Regions from separate parts of the Homo sapiens genome. Here regions 1 and 3 are each linked to region 2. The links are contacts of gene promoters, found by promoter capture Hi-C in blood cells and fetal thymus (Javierre and others, 2016). All regions are on one chromosome and are shown on one strand. The core of a region is centred on a gene start or on the middle of the fragment in contact, and the rest is flanking DNA. Distances in the headings are between cores, read along the strand shown.

Region 1 (3,049 bases), core at 512-3,011, 1.2 Mb after region 2:
AAATAAAAGCTTAAAAGAAACAAAAGGAAAATTAAAATAAAAATTAAAACAGGGAAAGGAAGACGTGAGAAAAGAAGGAAATGCGTGACAACATAAAATCAGATGCTAGCACACCATGTGGAGAAATGAAAGAACATAAAAGAAATGAAAAAAAGGAGGAGAAATCGACTTTCATGTGAGCCCTTCTGGTCCCTGGGAAGTAAGAGGCAGCGTGAATGCGTGTCCTCAGTGCTCACACGCACAACTGTTTTGTGTTTTTCTTCTTCTTCTCTCTGGATGCCGCCCCGTCCAATCTCAGGAGTTTCCTTTGTCTGCCTATCTAACCAAAACCATGCTGTCAGGCCCCCGTGAACCTGCCGACTCAGGTAGAAACAGGGGTCTACTCATAGCCGTGTCTGCATTTTCACAAAGGACAATGCAGGAAGCAATGGGGAAAATCCTAGAGGGGATGCAGCTGTCTTTGGGGAGCAAAGTGCAGGGAGGTTACAGCAGAGGCTCCATGTGAGGACCTAGACCCGCCTCTCAATAGACTCAGCCTGGAGGTGAAAGAAGTGGTTCCCAACCCTAGAGCCAGGTGGTTCAGAAGCTCAGAGTAGCCCCTGATTAACCTTTCCTGACAAACAGAGTAACTGATTGGTGTTAGATGAAAATCAAGACCTATTACGAGGTCGGCCAAACCTGCCTTGCCTCAGATATTGCTTGTGGCTTCTCAGACCACAGGCTCTTCCTGCAAAGCTCAGTGGAAGGCAGCTCAAAATGACCTTGAAAAGAACTGCCAGAAAGAGCCCACACAAACAAGAGAACCGTGGGATCCTGATGAACTTGGAATTGGAAAGTGGATTCACGTGAAACAGACCAAAATGTCGTAGTTAATTGGGAAGAAAAAAATTTGATTTCAATAAAACAAATACAAATAATGAAAACCAGCTTATACTTATATGTAGCTACGTATTAATACTTAGAATAAACATTGAATAGACTGTGTTGTTTTCCCATGATTTTTATTGCAGGATATCATGATTAAATATTCTCTATTTTGTATGTGGCTTCTCTGGCTTGACCACAAATCATCCTTGGAAATTATTTCAGTGCTTCATCACTTTTCCAACCACTGCTCATGTCCTGGGTACCCCAAACATTGCTGGGTACATCTTCACATCATGCCACTGCCCCTGCCCACTAGCGCCTCCCTGGCTACTGACCTGTCCTCCTCACCATCCTCACTGGTCAACAGTTCTGCATATGCAGTTTGAGCAGCTCTGCAAAATCCTTCACCCACTTCACAAAACCCTGAGTCATTTTACTGTCAGCTTCGTAAACCCAAGCCTCTGTATAGCTAGACCATTTTACACTGCTCTGTACTTAGCACCTAGAACCATGCTTGGCATAAAGTAGAGAAGTCAATCAATATTTTTTGGATAAAAAATTTGCCAACCTAAAGAATGGGAGGAAATATTTGCAAACTATGCATCTGACAAAGGTCTAATATCCAGCATCTATAAGGAAGTTAAGCAAATTTACAAGAGGAAAACGACCCCATTAAAAAGTGGGTAAAGGACACAAACAGACACTTCTCAAAAGAAGACATATACGTGGCCAACAAGCATATGACAAAAAGCTCAATATCACTCATCATTACAGAAAGGCAAACCAAAATGACAATGAGACACCATCTCATACCAGTCAGAATGGCTATTACTAAAAAGGCAAAACATTACAGATGCTGGTGAGGTTGCAGAGAAAAGGGAACACTTATACACTGTTGGTGGGAGTGTAAATTAATTCAACCATTGTGGAAAGCAGTATGGCAATTCCTCAAAGAGATAAAAGCAGAACTACCATTTGACCCAGCAATCCCATTCCTGGGCATATACCCAGAGGAATATAAATCATCCCACTATAAAGACACATATGTACATGAATGTTCACTGCAGCACTAATCACAATAGCAAAGACATGAAATCAACCTAAACGTCCATCAGTGACAGATGGGATAAAGAAAATGTGTTACATATTCATCATGGAATACTATGCAGCCATAAAAAAGAATGAGATCATATGTTTTGTGGGAACATGGATGCAGCTGGAGGCTATTATCCTCAGTAAACTAATGCAGGAATTGAAAACCAAATACCACATGTTCTCACTTTCAAATGGGAGCTAAAGGATAAGAAGTTAGGAACATAAAGAAGGAAACAACAGACACTGGGTCTAGTTGAGAGCGGAGGGTGGGAGGAGGGAGAGAAGCAGAAAAGAGAACTCTTAGTTACTGAGCTTAATAACTGGTGATGAAATAATATGTACAATGAACCCCTGTGACACATATTTACCTATGCAACAAACCTTCACATGTACCCACAAACCTAAAAGTTTTTTTAAAAATTTTTCTGGCCGGGCGCGGTGGCTCACGCCTGTAATCCCAGCACTTTGCGAGGCCGAGGCGGGCGGATCACGAGGTCAGGAGATCGAGACCATCCTGGCTAACAAGGTGAAACCCCGTCTCTACTAAAAATACAAAAAATTAGCCGGGCGCGGTGGCGGGCGCCTGTAGTCCCAGCTACTCGGGAGGCTGAGGCAGGAGAATGGCGTGAACCCGGGAGGCGGAGCTTGCAGTGAGCCGAGATTGCGCCACTGCAGTCCGCAGTCCGGCCTGGGCGACAGAGCGAGACTCCGTCTCAAAAAAAAAAAAAAAAAATTTCTAATAAAATAAAACTGTATTTCTGACTTTAAACACTTGAAAAAATTAATTTGCAATTCATTTGCACTCAATGTGCATGTATTTTTATTGATTTTGGGGGAGATTTACATCTATAATAACCCTAATATTAAGAAATATATTTAAAATAGTATTAGTCATGCCTAAACGAATTGAGAGTTCTAGGCAACAATCCTCAGTGTCTGCAAATTCACAAATGCCATTTATGTTTCCACAGTACCACCTTGGAAGTCATAGCCTTGTCAAAATAATCAAACCTGATGCTAATCAAGCCTCCAAATCTAACCACCAACTTACAGAACTGCAAAGAGCAGAGAAACGTATCAAATGCCA
Region 2 (3,035 bases), core at 504-3,003:
CCTCCAGGGACTGTAATGCACCGGTTATACACCAAGTTTGGTGTAGGGAGGGCACCTTCCCCTATGCCAGAAAAAGCCTTGCAATTGTCTATGGTCAAGCCTGAAAGATCACACACAGGAATTTGGGTCTGAAGTGAACCTCCTCACTTACTATAAGCAAGGCTGATTAATGCTGTCATACTATGAAGATAAATACAGTACAGTTACCAAATTCTAACACCCATTCAATATAATTAAAGGAAAAAGACATAAATACAAGGTAAGATAATGAGGAAAAAAAGAATATGTAAAAGTTTGCCACAGTTTTTTGATCTCATAACTATTAATAAAACTCTTCTGGGCACACCCTCACCTTCACTTACAACAAGTGAAAAAAATGAGTGATATATAAAAATTGGTTCCAATCTAAAATATTAGAATCACATGCAAATATTCAGATATCTGAGTTGGACAGTTAAAATAATATTTTAAATATATATATGTATACTCACGATTCATCTAAATCTTCTACAAATCCTTTACAGACGACCATATCAAGTACAACAACTGAAAAAAAAAGACAAAATGTACACAATAAATGCTGATTATTTGGCTCATACCGTATAAGCTTAGTCATCTCTGAAGTGTTTTTGACCTTTCACAACCTACCAAAAAATTCATCACTGATGCATCCCAGGGTGCAAATGATGCAAAAGCAAAGGTAGTTCATCCATTTAATAAATATTTAGTCTGTATGCAACCATATCGTGACCGGCCAAGTTCTAGGTAAGCCAATAAATCTAATACACACAGTTCCTTTTTCCTCCATATTTTCACTCTCATCTTACGTCTCTTTTTAACCATCCTATCTTTTTGGAATACAAATAGACAGCATTCTTCTTTATTTCTTTTGCTTTAGTAGCAATTACCTCTTCCGTAAAAACTCCAAATGCCATTCAAAATATTTCCCCTCAAATAGATACGTAGGAAGAAAGTCGAGCTGCAACTCTAATACTTATTACACGGCAGTGCCTGACACAGAGTGGGCTCTAAAAGGTTGTTAAGTGAGCGGACCCCAGTGAGAATGAGGGCACTCCATGCTGACGGGAGGCAGCTGAGAACCGCTGACACACACTCAGGTCCTTTTCACACCGCACAATCCCGGCGGCCTGACCCTGATCTGTCCTCGACCACCCTCTCTTGAGTACTGGTGGTAAAAATCCTTAAACGTGACAAGACTCGGAACCTAAAGCCAAGGCAAGATTTGGTCGTTAAGCTGGGACGGCGGCATCCTTCTTGCCCATCAAAGGAGTAAGCTTTATTGAAACTTCTGCCACAATGAGAAAAACACAAACACAAGGCAGCGCGCCCTTCCCACGTCCAGCATTGGTCCGGCACAGCGGCGGCGGAAGGACCCCAAGGTGTCCGCTCCGTCAGGGCCAGGCAGGGTGGCGCGGCGGGGGCGGCAGGACGCTGCCGGGAATGGGTGGGCATCTCCACGAACCCCGCAGGCCTCGCCCCAGACCCGGGTCCAATCCCGGCCCCACGGCGGGGCCAGGTCCCACGCGCCCGCCAGCGTCCCGACCGCTGAGCCCCCATTACCTGTGGCGCAGAGCCGCAGGGCCGTCCAACTCTTCCACGCTGCCATGCTAGCCCGGGAGAGCTGCAGAAGCTGACTGTGCAAAAGAGGGATAAAGACACTGGGGTCCGCCGCCTGCCCGCCCGGAAAGGGAAACGGAGCCGACCCGGAGCGGAAGAGAAGCACCGCGCTAACTACGGGGGCGGGGCTACCCGGCCAGTCTCCGTCTCCGGCTATGCGCGGGAGTGCGGCGCATGCGAGGGGAGTGCGGCGCATGCGACAGCGCCTGCGCAGTCATGTCTTAAGAATCCTTTGCGCTCTCGGTGCCCCCCTCCACGCCCAGGAGCGTGGGAACCCTGCTTAAGGGCTTTACTAGGGAAAACGGTGCTGGTTCACTGGGGCGCGTTTCCGGGAAGGTGAATACCGGTGAAAGTTATGCTGAGGGTGAGGTAGGCTCTGACGACGCACTTGCAGGTTGAATACTGGCACATCATTTACTTGTTACTCCCGTGTGGTGAGTGCACCTGTGGGTTTTGATGCTGGATCAAATTCCTGGAAAGAGGCGCGCATTAAGACTGCGGATTGCTGAGCTGCGCGACACTCCGTATTTTTCCAAAACGTATTTGTAATATTCTTTCAACCTGTTTGCATAATGGGACATCTCTTAAATGCAGCAAGCTTTAATGCATTTTTGCCAAAGTAAGGATTGCCTCTTTAAAAACTTTCTCTTGAAACTTGAGAACATGAAGTTAAGCGTAGGATATTTTTTGATGGCTCTTTTCTGATTATTTTGGAACTAGATAAAGTAGTATGAAATATTTATATTGCTACCTGTTTTTTCTTCTATACGACAATGATTTGTAAAAACCATATACTTTTATAAGACGGTTACTGCAGCAATCACTACTTACGAACTAGATGAAATTTTTATGGGACATAAGGTACCAGAGAATTTAGATCAAACCAAATTTTGAAAACCTGTGACAACAACAGAAGGGGGATATGATGTCAGCCGGTTCACCTTAGGTTCAAAATTCCAACAGGCAAAAATGTCATAAAACGTCGTTATTCCTAGTGACTAGAAGATTAAATTGCACTCTAATTGAGAGCAAGCCCTAAATGTCACCCCCTTTGTGCATGCAGCATGGTATCCAGCGCAAGCCCTCTACAGATTCAATTTTTCTTTTTCTTTCTCTTTTCCTTTTTTTCTTTTTTTTTTAAGAAAAAAGTAGACTAAAACGTAAGGGGACTGTTGAAATGATGGGAATGTTCTCCCGGTGGTGGTGGAACAGCTTTATAATAGTACCATCGCCTCGATACTCTTATACAGAAGCTTTTCTACTTTCTTGGCAAGGTCTCTGAATGACCCATATTCAATTTTTTTTTTTCATTCTCATGTATTTCAAAGTTTTCTGTCTTCCACAGCATGCAAAGTGAAATAATTTCCTCTTATATTTGCGTTACAGTTTAAGTTCAC
Region 3 (2,700 bases), core at 73-2,572, 1.1 Mb before region 2:
AGCAATAAGCAAATTCTTCATCTATTTGCCTCATAGATTTCCTTCCTGAATATCACCTCATTTTATTCTGAGTATTTAGTGAAAGTTAAATTCCAACAGATGAGTCATCTTCAGTAGCTGTTGGTTCCCTCATGGCTTCTAATTTGTAAATCTGTATTGGAATCTGTACTTGACTTATATTTATCGCCTATATTTAGCTCAAGTTCAATGTGGACTACAAAACCACATCTGGTCTCCAGAGCTCCCAGATCTAACCACTGGCACAAATCTTTTCCAACTGATAAGGAGCTTCACTTAAACACCTTCAGCTGGAAGCACAGTGCAAATGTTCTCAGCTGTCTGGCTTGGCACCTGGAACTGTCCCCATTACATTTTGGTATGACGTGAGTGGGTGTCACTTTCTGAATACCTTGAAATGAAAGAAATCCTTGAATTCTAAAATGTGCCAGAATGTGTAGCATTTATAAAGGATAATAAATTTAATTTCGTATTTATAATAGAAAGTAAATAATGTGATGAAGTAATATTTAGAATTACATGGCACCATTAGAACCACAAATTTTCAGGAAAATGAATATGATTTGGGATCCTCGTTTTCATTGCAACAATCTGTGGGAAGTGTGTTAACCAGCTCCCATGCCAGTCTTGATTCTATCTGACCATAGTATTAACTGCTGTGCTTTGGGTATACTTGCTGAGTATGGGCACAACATGTTTTATTTTTCATTTCCAAATGAATTACGTTGTTTAGTATAAGGCATAAAAATGTGTACAAATCAATAGTAAGCATATCATATGTAAATAGTTTTGATTACGGGATTTCACACAATTAGGGTAAAAATATTGATGTCTTTGCCACTAAATCAACCAGGTCTATGGTGATAAATATGGGAAAGTTGATTGCAGTAGTTTGGGATCTGAAAAGCCTTAGAACTGAGTAGTGCAGTTGTGACATAAACAAGTATTGAAGTTATTTTTATTTCAATGACAGCATTAGGGTGTAATAGAAACCCTTGAAAGAGGAGGACGTATAGTGTGACAGGAGCACAGACGACCCTTTCACTCGCCCTGCAGCATTCCACACAGAGTCCTATCTCTTGATTCAGAAGCCAGATGTGGGTATTAGTCAGGCATGTGTGGCTGTGTGCGGTATGTCAGTTGTAATGTACTTAGTGGAAAAGAGATTTATTTTTACACTCCCCTCCCTAAAAGTCATTAATAATTAATGAAACTTTAGTGTCCTTTAGGGCAAATTCAAAGAGCAGTTGCGAAGGCTTACTGAAAACACCATGAAATTTAACTCATGGCAATCTCAAAACAGCTTACGTATGAGCTTCTTTTTATTTTGACACTGTTTTCCATTAAAATTCATAGGGAGAAAGAGACAGACAAAATGTTTGTGGGTTTTTCTGAATGGAAATACCATTAGAGAATGATCTCAGCTATGGAAGAAACTACTCTAAAATTCTGGAAAAGCCATAAACATCATTTTTCCTTGTTTTTATTCCTCCAGTAAAAAAAAGAAGGGTAGCCAAAATTTTCAAAAGTAGTCAGTGACAAAAAGCCTTTTTATTCTTGATGAATTGGAAAATTATCCTTTTACTTCCCTAAATGTTTTTATAACAGTAGCTAAGCCATGTATCTCTGAGGTTTAAAAGAAATCCAGTGCTCACATAACCTTTAATGTTCTCCTCCAAGCAATTTTTGATGAGTAATAATTTCCAAGAAAAATGAGCCCTTTTTTTTTTCAGTAATTTCTTACCCTAAATACAGGCATACCTCATTTTACTGTGCTTCTCAGATATTGTATTCTTTACAAATTGAAGGTCTGTGGCAACCCTGCTTTGAGCAAGTATATTGGTGCCATTTTTTTCAGCAGCATGTGCTCGCTTGGTGTCTCTGTGTCACATTTTACTAATTTGTATGATATTCCAAACTGTTTCATTAATACTGTATCTGTTATGGTGATCTGTGAATAGTGATCTTTGATGTTACTATTGCAATTGTTTTGAGAGCATCATGAACTCTACCTATATAAGACAGGGAACTTGATAAATGTGTGTGTGTTCTGATTGCTTCATCAACCAGCTGTTTCCTCATCTTCCTCTCCTCAGGCCTCCCTGTTGCCTAAGGTACAGCAATATCAAAATTAGGCAGACTAATAACCCTACAATAGCCTGTAGGTATTCAAGTGACAGGAGGAGTTACATGTCTTTGACTTTAAAACTAGAAATGATGAAACTTACTGCAAAAGTCATGTCAAAAGTGGAGATAGGCCAAGAGGTGGGCCTCTTGTATGAAACAGGTAGGCAAGTTGAAAATGTGAAGGAGACGTTCTTAAAGGAAATTAAAAGTGCTACTCCAGTGATCACACAAATGATAAGAAAGCAAAACAGGCTTATTGCTGATGGAGAAAATTTTAGTCGTCTGGTTTGAAGATCCATTGAGCCAAAAAATTCTCTTAAGTCAAATACTAATCAAGAGAATAACCCTAACTCTCTTCAATTTTATGAAGGCTGAAAAAGGTGAGGAAGCTGCAGAAGAAAAGTTGGAACCCAGAAGAGGTTGGTTCATGAGATTTTAGGGAAGAAGTTTTCTCTATAACATAAAAGTACAAAGTGAAGCAGCAAGTGATGATGTAGAAGCTGCAGCAAGTTTTCCAGAACATCTAGCTAAGATAGTGATGAAAGTAGCTACACT

Evidence for each region. Contacts are between HindIII fragments. The CHiCAGO score rates a contact against its expected background, and 5 or more counts as called.
Region 1: a fragment that was not itself captured here is called in contact with the fragment with the promoter of TMX3 in region 2 in 1 of 17 cell types (activated CD4 T cells); the score reaches 5.7 in activated CD4 T cells.
Region 3: a fragment that was not itself captured here is called in contact with the fragment with the promoter of TMX3 in region 2 in 1 of 17 cell types (naive B cells); the score reaches 5.9 in naive B cells.

What each region holds. Positions count from the first base shown.
Region 1 is chr18:69,898,062-69,901,110 of GRCh38, forward strand. All of the region lies in intron 2 of CD226 (CD226 molecule), which reads right to left. Among named protein-coding and RNA genes, the nearest start is that of CD226, 48 kb to the right of the region's middle. The HindIII fragment of the contact is 3,508 bases long and covers 8-3,049 here.
Region 2 is chr18:68,713,355-68,716,389 of GRCh38, forward strand. TMX3 (thioredoxin related transmembrane protein 3) reads right to left here and starts at 1,754. Exons shown (of 16, transcript NM_019022.5): 1 at 1,582-1,754; 2 at 492-546. The coding sequence starts at 1,627. It also overlaps a transcript of CCDC102B not described here. RefSeq lists silencers at 1,402-1,501, 1,682-1,811 and an enhancer at 2,012-2,081. The HindIII fragment of the contact is 941 bases long and covers 1,294-2,234 here.
Region 3 is chr18:67,599,261-67,601,960 of GRCh38, forward strand. The region is part of intron 1 of DSEL-AS1 (DSEL antisense RNA 1); the gene reads left to right. All of the region lies in intron 1 of LOC105372174 (a long non-coding RNA gene), which reads right to left. Among named protein-coding and RNA genes, the nearest start is that of DSEL, 84 kb to the left of the region's middle. The HindIII fragment of the contact is 2,932 bases long and covers 1-2,700 here.